Linked DNA regions of Homo sapiens: all the other regions are linked to region 1. Evidence: promoter capture Hi-C in 16 types of primary human blood cells and fetal thymus (Javierre and others, 2016). All regions are on one chromosome and are shown on one strand. Each heading gives the region's core, a stretch centred on a gene start or on the middle of the fragment in contact. The rest is flanking DNA. Distances are from core to core; before and after follow the strand shown. Region 1 holds the start of WSB1 (WD repeat and SOCS box containing 1). Region 2 has its middle 7.2 kb from the start of NOS2. Region 3 holds the start of NLK (nemo like kinase).

Region 1 (3,701 bases), core at 324-2,823:
GCAGATCACAAGGTCAGGAGTTCAAGACCAGCCTGGCCAATATCGTGAAACCCCCTCCCTACTAAAAGGATGAAAAAAATTAGCTGGGCGTGGTGGCAGCCACCTGTAGTCCCAGCTACTCGGGAGGCTGAGGCAGGAGAATCGCCTGAACCCGGGAGGCAGAGGTTGCAGTGAGCCGAGTTGGCGCCACTGCACTCTGCTCTGGGAGACAGAGCAAGACTCCGTCTCAAAAAAAAAAATAAATAAATAACCAAAAAAAAAAAAAAGGAGGGGCGATGTTTTATTAAACATTTCGCTATTTGAAGAATTAATACACTCATGCAAAGAAAAGATGAAGTAAACATGCCCTACAGTGTTATCATTTGAGATCTCTTAAAAGCGGCTATGCAGCCGGGCGTGGTGGCTCACGTTGTAATCCCAGCACTTTGGGAGGCTGAGGCGGGCGGATCACTCGAGGCCAGGAGTTCGAGACTAGCCTGGCCAACAGGGTGAAACGCCCTCTGTACTAAAAATACAAAAATTACCCGGGCTTGGTGTCACATGCCTGTACAAATCCCAGCTACTGGGGAGGCTGAGGCAGGAGAATTGCCTGAACCCGGGAAACGGAGGTTGCAGTGAGCCAAGATCACGCCATTGCACCCCAGCCTGGGAGAAGCGAGACTCCGTCTCAAAAAAAAAAAAAAAAAAAAAAAAAAAAGCGGCTATGCAACACTCTACTCTGTCCCATGAATATCTGCCACATATTTGAATTCCCAGTCTTATACGCCCCAGGCCTTTGCAATGTTTAGGGTCCACACGAGAAGCCATTAAAATGCAAATACGTCATCTGTGACCGGGAACCAAGCTGGCATCTAGCAGATACTGACACATTTATCAGTCTGATGTGTGGACAACTAGGTGCCTCCCAGAGGCCTTCAGGTAAGGTGGAGGAAGGGCCAATTCTGAGCTGACACAGTGGGATCCATCTTGGCCAGGACAGTGGGATCCATCTTGGCCAGGACAAAGGCAGTCCAGAGAGGCCCCGCGGCGCGGTGCGGCGCGATCACGCCCGAGTCTCCTTCTCGTTCCCCTCGGCCCTTCCTAAAACCTGCTGGCTCAGGTCTGAACAATCGCAGCTGGACAGGTGGTGCACAACGATGTTAATTTTCATCCTGTCTTTTTCATCAGTGCATCCTTCAGTTCCCTATTACTTGTGGGCTGGGGAGTTGGCCAAATTGAGTGAAAACCTGAAATGTCTTTTTGTTCTTTTGGTTCAGCCAGTTTAAGTTCCATGCAATCTTTAAGCTAGGAGGCTAATAATAATACAATTCTCTGCTTGCCCTTTTCAAAGCCACTTCAGCTTATAAACTCCATATTAGACCATCCAGGCCCAGAAGACGCCACCGGCCTACAGGCAGAGTCAGCGGAACCAGCCTGGGCTGGATCTCCCCCTGCGAGGCCCCCAGGCAACGCCCGCGCCGGGCCGGGGAGATCACGTCCCGTGCGTCGGGAGGCGGGGGCCTCGGGCTGTGACGTCACGTGGCCGCGCCCCTGCCGCCCAGATATCTCCGGCGCCGCCCGCCATTTTGACTCCAGTGTCTCGTTTGCAGTCGGCGCTTTAGGGGAACTGTCTTCCTCCGCAGGCGCGAGGCTGGGTACAGGGTCTATTGTCTGTGGTTGACTCCGTACTTTGGTCTGAGGCCTTCGGGAGCTTTCCCGAGGCAGTTAGCAGAAGCCGCAGCGGCCGCCCCCGCCCGTCTCCTCTGTCCCTGGGCCCGGGAGGGACCAACTTGGCGTCACGCCCCTCAGCGGTCGCCACTCTCTTCTCTGTTGTTGGGTCCGCATCGTATTCCCGGAATCAGACGGTGCCCCATAGATGGCCAGCTTTCCCCCGAGGGTCAACGAGAAAGAGATCGGTGAGGATTGGGACCGTGGGTGGGCGCATGAGGGCCGAGGAGAGGCAGGGACTCCCCGGAGGAGGTTTGGGAGGAAGCGACTCCAAGTCTGAGGGAAGAGCTCCAGTGCGCCAGGGCCAGCCCACTAGCGAGGAGGAGGAAGCCGCCTCGGTGGGAGTTGGCTGAGGGGTAAACGGCACCGACGTGGATGCAGCACCTACTGTGCTCCCTCGCGGTTGCTGTGTGGCTGGGGCGGGCAAGGACCCCGGTTTCTTCGTCGGAGGTCCGCGCAGGGCTCTTGTCCTGGGAGTTCTTGGCTCAGGGCATGACTGTCGAGTGGACAGGGAAGGGCCACTCAGGGACTTTAGGTTTACAATGGGGAAAAGTAAACTTGTGGGTTGTAAGCGGTAATGAAAGGAGGGGGTCCTCGTGTGTACCAACCACTCTTAGATAGAAATGAGATGGAAGAGGTCCCAACAGCCTGGCAAAAGCAATACAGTATTTTTAAAATGGTGTGGCCTTAAGAAACGCAGCGGTTCGGGGGAGGAGACTTTTAGAATTATCTTTCAAACACTTAAGGGAGGAGCTGGGTGGTTGGGTGGAGTGACAGAAGGAAAGCTTTTGTGCGGAAGAGGAAACTCTGGAAAAGGCTTTTCTGGCTTAGTGTCTAGCCCTGGTCGGCTTAGTAAAGGGCAATTAGTGTTGAAGGTTGTGCGTCCACACCTACTTAGTGGCTCAGTGGAAAGCACGTCGCATTATTTAAATCCTCTTTTAAAGTAAAATAACTGGAACAACGTTTGACGGTGTTGGGGGGTGCTGTACATTGGCTGATAACACTTAGCAAACACTGATCTTACTGTGTGAAGTAATAATTAGCTGCGGCCGCTGAGCAGAGAGCATTTACATTTTCCTACTCTTGAAGTGAATGTGTGCCTTTACTAAGTACAAGGAGGAGTTATTTCTAGAGAAGGGAAGAGGCTGAAGTAGCCAAAACGCGCACTATTTTGTATGTGGGTGAATTTTTATATCTAGAAACAGCTGTTTTAGAATTCTGGACTTTTGTTGTCTTAGGGATGATTGATTAGGAAGGGACTTTAACCCTGGTTTTAATAACCATTTTTAAAGATACAAACACAGAAAAAAAAGGGAAAAAATTGTAGCAGAGTTCACACAGAAAAAAGAAAAAAAAAGATGCAAAGAACACAGAATTTGTGTCCAGTTATTATTTTAACTGTATTTTAAGACTAGAAAGTATGTCGCGAAGTGGGACAAAGAACTCAAAAGTTCTTATCAGTCCAGTGGGTTTTTCTTTTACTTTAGTACACCATAATGTTATAGACGAGTGATCTGCCTTTTTTTTAAATCTGTATTTTACTTCATCCTGATAAACCATTTTGAAAACTTTGCGGTCCTGTTTTCTCTCTCTCTTTTTTTTTTTTGAGATGGAGTTTTTGCTCTTGTTGCCCAGGCTGGAGTGCAATGGCACGATCTCGGCTCACTGCAACCTCCGGCTCCCGGTTTCAAGCGATTCTCCTCCCTCAGCCTCCTGAGTAGGTGGGATTACAGGCATGCACACGCCCGGCTAATTTTTGTGTTTTTAGTAGAGATGGGGTTTCTCCATGTTGGTCAGGCTGGTCTCGAACTCCCGACCTCAGGTGATCGCCCACCTCTGCCTCCCAAAGTGCTAGGATTACGGGCGTGAGCCACCCCGCCCAGATTTCCGGTTTTGTTTTCTAAGAGATGGATAGAGATGGATAGCATACCTACATAAAGTAGAACCATCCACTAAGTGTTCCCCCACTAGCCCCCTGATTTCTCTTTTCTTTT
Region 2 (4,070 bases), core at 654-3,153, 510 kb after region 1:
CAGCAGCTCCGAAGCTGAGGTCTTCCCCGGTTTCCACCACCTTGCCTGACTCGGAGATGACGGAAGTGAAGTGAAGGGATTTTTACTGGAAACGCCCGGTGGTCACTCCAGGATGGACAGGCCCAGGGTGGACCAGGAAGGTGGACAAGCTTTGCTGAGTCCCTGGAGTGTGACTCAAGCTGGCTGGTGCAGGCCTGGCACTTTGCTGCTGTTTCTTTTAAAAGCCTCGTTTCTTGTCAAGCCTCCCCAGAACACCCTCCCTTCCCTGCCCTCCCGTTTTGCTTCCTGGGTGCCCGTCCTTCTAGGCGGAGAAACAACAAACAGAGTGGCACCTGGGGTAGTCCCAGGGTGTGATGGTTCAAGGGGCAAGATTCAGGGGCAAGTAGTGTATCTGGGAAGTGCAGGGGACATCAGGAGGGGAATGAGGAAGTGAGACAGAGAAAGGGAGGCAGCTGGTAAAAGTACTATAGGGCAGCTTTCACGATTTGCAACCAGACTCAGCCCCACCAGGGAACTTGAAAAATGGTGCAGAAAACAGGGCTTCAAATGATCCCATCCAAGGGGCCAGGGGCTGGGCTACTGACCCAGCAGTTCCAGAGCATCACTCATTGAGGCTGCTCCCAGGGAGGTTAAATTCCCAAGGCCTGCTGTGGGCAGAGCAGCCTTCCTTGGTTCTGGGAAAGCCCTCTAGAATTCACAAAGTGCACTGGAATGAGACGAAGACAGACGTCACTGCTACAGGGGGTTTAGAATTGGGTCAAATGGAGGAAGAGAGGTACCTCCTCCCCAGGTACAGCCTCTGAGGGTGCTGGATGCTGATCCAAGAAGTTCTAAATGCCAAGAGCTTCAGCTAAGCCCACCCTCTTGTATCCTTCCCTAAGAAGCGCTGCATCTTTGGTTAGGCCACATAAGCCCTCCGGGCCTCCCTTTCCTCAGTTAAGGGTCTCTGAGGCCTTTCCAGCTGTGGTATCTGGGCTTTCTGAGTCTCCCCACCTCATACATATCTGGTCTTTGATGCTCTTGGAAAAGTTATCTTCCCCACCAGAGTGCCCCTGAAAGGCAGAATGTAGCAACGACTGGCAACTTCTGCAGAGCCTGACCACTGTGTGCACAGAGATGTCTGGAGCATCGCTCTCTACGAGAGCCAGAAACAACCCAAGTGATCAGCATAGAGAAAGGCACACCAGGCCAGCTTTATAGTGTACCATTACGTGGCCAAAAAAAAAGTGTATTAAGAATTTTTTGGCCAGGTGTGGTAGCTCATGCCTGTAAATTCTAGCATTTTGGGAGGCTAAGATGGGAGGATTGCTTGAGCCCAGGAGTTTGAGACCAGCCTTGCCAACATGGCAAAACCCTGTCTGTACAAAAAATACAAAAATTACAAAAATTAGCCAAGTGTGGTGGTGAACACCTGCAGTCCCAGCTACTCGAGAGGCTGGGGTGGGAGGATCGCTTGAGACCAGGAGGTCGATGCTGCAGTGAGCTGTGATTGTACCATTGCACCCCAGCCTGGGCAACAAAGTGAGACCCTGTTTCAAAAAAAAGGATTTATTTAGCTGGGCATCGTGACAAGCACCTGTAGACCTAGCTACTAACTGAGGTGGGAGGATCACTTGAGCTGAGGAATTAAGAGACCGCAGTGAGCTATGATTGCACCATTGCACTCTCCAGCCTAGGCAACAGTGAGACTCTGATCTCTTAAAAAAAAAAAAAAAGAGTCTTTATGATAAGAAATAATGTTCATGATATCAGTAGAAAAATGATAACCCCTAACATGTAAAATAAAGACAGAAAAAATGTGAGAAAAAAATACTAAAATATTAAAAAGTGGTAGAATTATGGGCAATAGTTATCTTTTCTTTACCCTTCTCTGTATTTGCTATCTGTGCATATGTTAGTTTTATAATATAAAAAGTGACTCCTTACTTTTTGAAATACTATCTCAGACGTGTGGCTGTGCCAGTAATTCACCTTTCCCAAAGGAAAAGAGCCTCTAGCACCCATTTTCATTACAGGAGGCACAGAGAGGGCGGCTGCCCACGCCCCTGGCTGTTCTGCAGGAGTTACACCGGTTTTCTGAGCATCGTCCGTGAGTTTTCCAAGCTGGGCCCTGGGGATCCAGTGGTGAGTGATGGCAGACAAGCTGGCTGTCTCTCTCCCTCCCCACTCTGCTGCCAATAGAGATGGCAAGATGAGTCCCAGAGCCTGTTGGAGGCGGTGCATTTGGGGGACAGGGGCTGCCTCCTTAAAAACAGAGTGGAAACCAGGGGGACAGGCCAAGTGCATCGAAATGCTAGGACGGTTGGCCAAAGCTGAGCGGCTCACTCTTGAAACAGAGGTGGGGTCTGGCTCTTGGTGGGTGAAGGAAGAATTGGAGGAAGGGAGGAAGGGTAATTCCTCCAGCAATTTGAGTGGGAGGCTGTGGGGGGCAAGCTATTAATAACGGCAGAGGCCACTGTCAGGCAGACTCAGGGACAAGTCTCAGGCCTGCCACCTAAATTCATCTGTGGGCATTGGAGAGGTTACTTTTGGTTTCAGTTTGCTTATCTGTAAAGTGTGGATAATCACAGAGTCCCCACCTCCTCAAGCCTTGGGGAGGAGTAGCGAGAGGATGTACGCAGCACCTGCCCTGCAGTTCAGCTTGAGCACGCTCCTATCTTGCCAGAGCCGGAGCGTAGCTGTAGCTTTAGCAGAGCAGCAGCACCGAGCTGGCTGGCTCTGCCTACTGCTATTCTCCCAGCACCTGGCACATGCTGGAGCTCAAGAAACAATGCCCAGCTGACTGCCAGGGCCTTTTTAATGTGTTATCTCATGCATTCCACACCACCACACTGTGAGGTGAGCTGTGTCAACCCTATTTTACAGATGACAAAATTGAGGCTTAGGAAGATTAAAGAATTTTTCCCAAGATCATACAGCTAAAGCTGCAGAACCAAGATTCAGGTCCATTTGATTCCAAATGCTTCTGGGAGGAGCATCTTAGGGACACCACCGGTCTGAGGCTCAAGGCAGCCCTCTCTCACCCAAGACCAAGCTCTTGTAGACAACAACTGTTTAAAGGGCAAAGACAGCTCCTGGGGAAGAGGCAGGAAAATCAATGAAATGATCTGTGATGCTGTCAGGGCCCTGGAGGAAGGACTGAGCAATGCAGGAGTTCCCCAGGGGCTCCCGGGAGGGCCCAAGAGGCCAGGTGGGGGCGGGGTTGGGCAGGGAAGCCTGGGGGAGTACTCTCAGAGGAGGTGACAGTCCCCAACAGGAGGAAAGGCTGTCCTCCTGCTGAGCTTACAAGGGAAGCTCCCATGCCGGAAGGAAGAACCTTGAACTTCTGCTTCCAATACCTGTGTCTAGCCTGTCTCATCCTGGCCTGCATTTCAGAGCTCCCCCCAACTCCAGGAGCTCTCTAGTAAGCCATGCCTTTGCACACACTGTTCCCTGTTGCTGGAATGTCCTTCCCGACAGCTCCCTAGCCCACCCTTGCCCTGACTCGAATCCCCTTCAGACTCTGCTTTACTTCATGGCATTGTTGCCTCTAGGGGCTCCCCTGACCCTCCATCCTCAAGCCCCTTGGGGTTCCCCAAATCCCTTAGGCTCCCCTCTCCTCAACACTGATCCCACTGTTTTAATTGTGGTCTCACTGCTCTGTCTCTTTTACTAGACACAAGCTTCCCAAGGCCAAGGTCATGTCTCACATCTCTGCAGCACCAGCAGCATGCTTGGCCCAGACTAGGTGCTCAGTGGATTTTGTTTTGTTGAGATAAAAAGTCACGTGCCATTAAATTCCCCCATTTAAAGAGTATAATTCAGTGGTTTTTAGTATATTCACAAAGTTATGAAACTATCACCACTATCTAATTCCAGAACGTTTTTGTCACCCCAAATAGAAACCCTGTACCCATTAACAGTCACTCCCTATTTCTTACCCCCAACTCTTAGAAACCACTAAATCTACTTTTTTTTCACTATAGATTTGCTTATTTTGGATGTTTTATACAAATGGAATCATATAATATTTGGCCCTTTGTGTCTAGCTTGTTTCACTTATAATGTTTTTGGGGTTCATTCACGTGGCA
Region 3 (3,962 bases), core at 447-2,946, 750 kb after region 1:
CTGAAGCTCAACATTCCCTTTTTCTTCCCCTATTTTTTACCCCACACTTTACATCTTAAGTGGGATATTGGACATCTCGGATCAGTGGACCAGTGATGATTTGGACTCCGCCTTCTTCGTCTAGGTCCCGCCCACTTTAAGACCCCACCCCTTCCCTAAGCCCCGCCCCTTGAAGAGGTTGTCTCGATATGACAGCAAATTCTCCACAATCCTGTCCTATAGGAGATCTAAAGGGTGGGACTTACATCAACCTTTTTTTTCCATTTGTTTTTTCAAGTGTCTATTTGGCCCAGGTTCCATCCCACTTCATTTTCAACCCAAGGATTGGTTACTCTGTTCTTTGTCTCTGGCTCATGATTGGTTCTTTCGTTCCGCCCCTCTCTTCCAGCTTTTGCAGGCGGGATTACCACGCAGCTTCCTGCTCCTGCCAAAAAAAAAAAAATAAATAATAAAAGAAGAAGAAGAAAAGAGGAGAGAGGCGAAAGAAAAATGTCACAAAGATCTTTGCTTTTTAATTGGCTTTAAGCCTTGTCGGTCAAGCCAAACTCTGCCTTTGATTGGTCTTTCTATCTGCCCATCCCGGATCGGGGGCGGGATTTCCCCGGAAGACCCACACCTTGTTGCCACTGGCCGAACAGTGCGCCTGTCTGAAGCTCCTGGCCCAGGATTGGAGGCGGTGGCGGACAGGTGGGCGTGGATTGGCTAGGGCAGCCGGTCCGTGCAAGGCGGGGGCGGGGCCTCGGCGGCTGGTTGCGCGTGTCCGACGCTGGCTCCGCTCTATCCGGCTTTGCTAGGGGAGGTGAGTCCGGCCGCGGCGGAACCGGCGGCTGAGGAGGCGGCGGCTGAGGAGAAGGCGGCCGCGGCGGCTGAGGAGAAAGCGGCCGCGGGGACGGAAGCCGGGTGGGGGGGAGGGGGGGAGACGGAGCAGCCTTGAGCCCTGCGGGGCCGTTGCGCGGGGGACCCACCCGCTCTCCCCCCCAACCCTCCTCAGCAGAAGCAGCCGGCGGCGGGGGCAGGAGTCAGCCCGCTTCCGACCGTACCCCGCCCGCCTCCCGGGGCTCCTGTTCTTTGGCCCCGGGACCCTAACCTTCTCCCGGGGCGGTTCCCTCCGTCTGGGCGTCCGAGCGCTGCCCACATCTTTCATTCCTCCCTGCACCTCCTTCCCTTCACTTTTGCCCCGGCTCTCTTTCTCCTCTCTGTCCTGCTGTCGCCTCCTCTCCTCACTCCAGCCTCCTTCCCTGGCTTATTCTGCCCAGGAAAGTTTGGAACCCCCGCCCCCCCTCCCCAATCAGGTCAACCTGACTAGGAGTAGGGGGAGATGTAGGAAGGCCTGAGAGTTCGGGGGGGGGGAAGCTGGAAGCTGGTTTCCCAGAAAATTTCCCCCCATCTTCTCCATTTAGGGTGGTGGGAATTTTTTTTAATCCTGTTTTTGAGGAGGTGGTAGGTGTTTAGAAAAGGATGTGGGAATGGAAGGGGTAGATGAGTCAACCCTCTTTCAAGATTCCAAGGGTGGTGTGTTACCTGATCCTTTTCGTGTGTGGAGTTCAGGGGGTCGGGAGGTTTGGCCTTTATTCCCACATTCAAAGTTGGAACCTCCCCCAAATTAAGAATGGAGTTTTAGTACCCACTTGTGGCAGGAATCCTGGGGGGAAGGGGTCCTTTTTTCCTTTTTCTTTTCTTTTTTCCCTTTTTTTTCCTTTTGGCAACCCACACCCTTCCACACACGCTCACCCCAAAATTAAACACCAAGATCCTCTAACTTGTTTGGATTGACTGATGAAGACATAAAGCTCTATGTTTTTTGAGGTGGAGTGAGTGGTTTTTCTTCATTTTTAAATGGCCAAATGACAGCTTGACCCAGTTTGCTTTCCAATCAAAGGGCATTTATTTTGAATGTCTCTTTGTGGCGCAAGAGCCAACGCAAAAATGATGGCGGCTTACAATGGCGGTACATCTGCAGCAGCAGCAGGTCACCACCACCACCATCACCACCACCTTCCACACCTCCCTCCTCCTCACCTGCACCACCACCACCACCCTCAACACCATCTTCATCCGGGGTCGGCTGCCGCTGTACACCCTGTACAGCAGCACACCTCTTCGGCAGCTGCGGCAGCCGCAGCAGCGGCTGCAGCTGCAGCCATGTTAAACCCTGGGCAACAACAGCCATATTTCCCATCACCGGCACCGGGGCAGGCTCCTGGACCAGCTGCAGCAGCCCCAGCTCAGGTACAGGCTGCCGCAGCTGCTACAGTTAAGGCGCACCATCATCAGCACTCGCATCATCCACAGCAGCAGCTGGATATTGAGCCGGATAGACCTATTGGATATGGAGCCTTTGGTGTTGTCTGGTGAGTATCCAAAGAAAAACACAACCTCTCATGGTTTCTTCTGTTGGTTGTCATTGGATGAGTCCATCTCTAATGGTTGTCTCCATGTTGACCAAGGTGCAGCAAGCTTCTCAACCCAACTGTAGGAAGCCACCCTCACTTATGTGGTAAAGAGGCCTAATGCATTGGCTGTCTAGGCTCATGGCAAGTTTTGGTGGAGCGCCTTCTCATGAGCAACACACATAAGTGTGCTGTCTACCAAACTTTTCTATTAGAACCTAAGCAAGCCACTGAACACAGGATCAGTAGATGAATGTATGCAATACTAATTCCTACGAAGACCTTGGTCATCTCGTGTGTTTGATTCAGTGGCCCTGTGGCATTAAGTGTTAGCACCTGATCCAGACTGAATTCCTTTATAATACTCTTGTCATTAGGATATACTTTGCATAACTACTTTCCTGTCCTTTCTGTCTTTTCACTTATTTTGTGATCTTGATCTCCAGAAGAAAGATAGGATTCATAGTTGAACCAGTTAAGATCATTGCTTGAGTGGTTTATTTTAAACCATAAAGCTACAGTTGAGAAGTATGTAGCTGTAGCCTTTTGATAAGAATGCATTAAATATAGCATCACACATGAGTACCACAAATGAGGTTAGTAGACTAGCTATGCAGTGGCCCACATTCAGTGTAATGTTTTAGTGTCATTTAGTGCCTCTTAAGTTGCTGTTATCTGTTGGTCAGTTGCTGTAGTAGGAAATAATACTTTTTTAACAAATGACCCTACCTTTGCTAGTGCTAGGATATTTGTAAAAGCCTAAGGGCTTCTTAAATATAACATTTTGGTCTATTTGGTCTAACCTTAGAAAGATTAGTAGTTTATAATAAAATATGTTTGTTCCTATCAAAACTAGAATGAACTGGGTTTTCTCCCAAGGACTAATGATTCCACTTTGGATAGATGAATTGATATTTTCAGTGCATTCAAAAATTGTTACTCCCGAGAAAAGCGCCCATTACCACAGGAAAATGAACTCTTTGGAACTAGCCCGGTAAATATCTCCTTTCGTCATTGTTTTTGAGGCTAAAATTGATGGGTGCATTGTTTATGCATTTTAACTGGCCATCTTATTTATATTTCAGATTTGATAATCTAGGCTGCTAAGTGATCTCATCCATTTTTTAAAAAAACTAGTAGAGTCCAGTGTTTTCTCAGCTAGTCCCCAAGGAAGTTTCTGCTGCAGCGTGGTCCTTTCTTCAAGGTGTGTGGGATTCAAGGTGGAAAAGAGTATAGCTGGTAATGGTGCCTTGGTCATTCTGCTCAGGGACCTGCCTGTTCCTGCCTTCCTCTCTTCCCTTCCACAGACTATCTCAGAGATTTAACTGTGAACTTATCCTTGCCTAACTCTTGAGGATTTCCAAGCTTTGGTTGGGGGATGGAACAGACAGGAAAACGGTTGTTCCTTGGTTTAAATTTTGTCATTGATTTACTAATAACTTTTAGCACTTGTTTGGATCTTCTTAGATCTGGATGCTTACTTTCTTTTTTAGTGCCTTACATACAATGCTAAAAACTAGGGATACTGAAAGGGAAATGGGTTGCAGCATTCTTGAATATATTCAAAAGGCA

What was found. The method cuts DNA at HindIII sites, captures the fragments that hold promoters and counts their contacts. A CHiCAGO score of 5 or more calls a contact.
Region 2: a contact is called between a fragment that was not itself captured here and the fragment with the promoter of WSB1 in region 1, in 3 of 17 cell types (non-activated CD4 T cells, total CD8 T cells and activated CD4 T cells). The highest score is 6.6, in non-activated CD4 T cells.
Region 3: a contact is called between the fragment with the promoter of NLK here and the fragment with the promoter of WSB1 in region 1, in 1 of 17 cell types (erythroblasts). The highest score is 5.4, in erythroblasts.

The regions. Positions count from the first base shown.
Region 1 is chr17:27,292,541-27,296,241 of GRCh38, forward strand. WSB1 (WD repeat and SOCS box containing 1) reads left to right here and starts at 1,574. Exons shown (of 9, transcript NM_015626.10): 1 at 1,574-1,895. The coding sequence starts at 1,856. It overlaps MIR4522 (microRNA 4522), which reads right to left and starts at 1,456; the gene lies at 1,370-1,456. RefSeq lists enhancers at 1,303-1,352, 1,723-1,782, 1,793-1,852 and a silencer at 1,393-1,602. The HindIII fragment of the contact is 5,795 bases long and covers 1-2,490 here.
Region 2 is chr17:27,805,645-27,809,714 of GRCh38, forward strand. No RefSeq gene overlaps it. Among named protein-coding and RNA genes, the nearest start is that of NOS2, 7.2 kb to the left of the region's middle. RefSeq lists promoters at 1-3,173, 1-4,070, enhancers at 1-113, 1-888, 514-753, 670-689, 2,435-2,554 and 3 more and a silencer at 3,090-3,252. The HindIII fragment of the contact is 3,513 bases long and covers 148-3,660 here.
Region 3 is chr17:28,040,981-28,044,942 of GRCh38, forward strand. NLK (nemo like kinase) reads left to right here and starts at 1,697. Exons shown (of 11, transcript NM_016231.5): 1 at 1,697-2,351. The coding sequence starts at 1,894. It overlaps LOC105371709 (a long non-coding RNA gene), which reads right to left and starts at 740. Exons shown (of 3, transcript XR_934637.4): 1 at 617-740; 2 at 246-424. It overlaps LOC102724517 (a long non-coding RNA gene), which reads left to right and starts at 2,358. Exons shown (of 2, transcript XR_001752820.2): 1 at 2,358-3,962. RefSeq lists an enhancer at 143-437 and silencers at 605-834, 855-1,084. The HindIII fragment of the contact is 3,107 bases long and covers 1-2,455 here.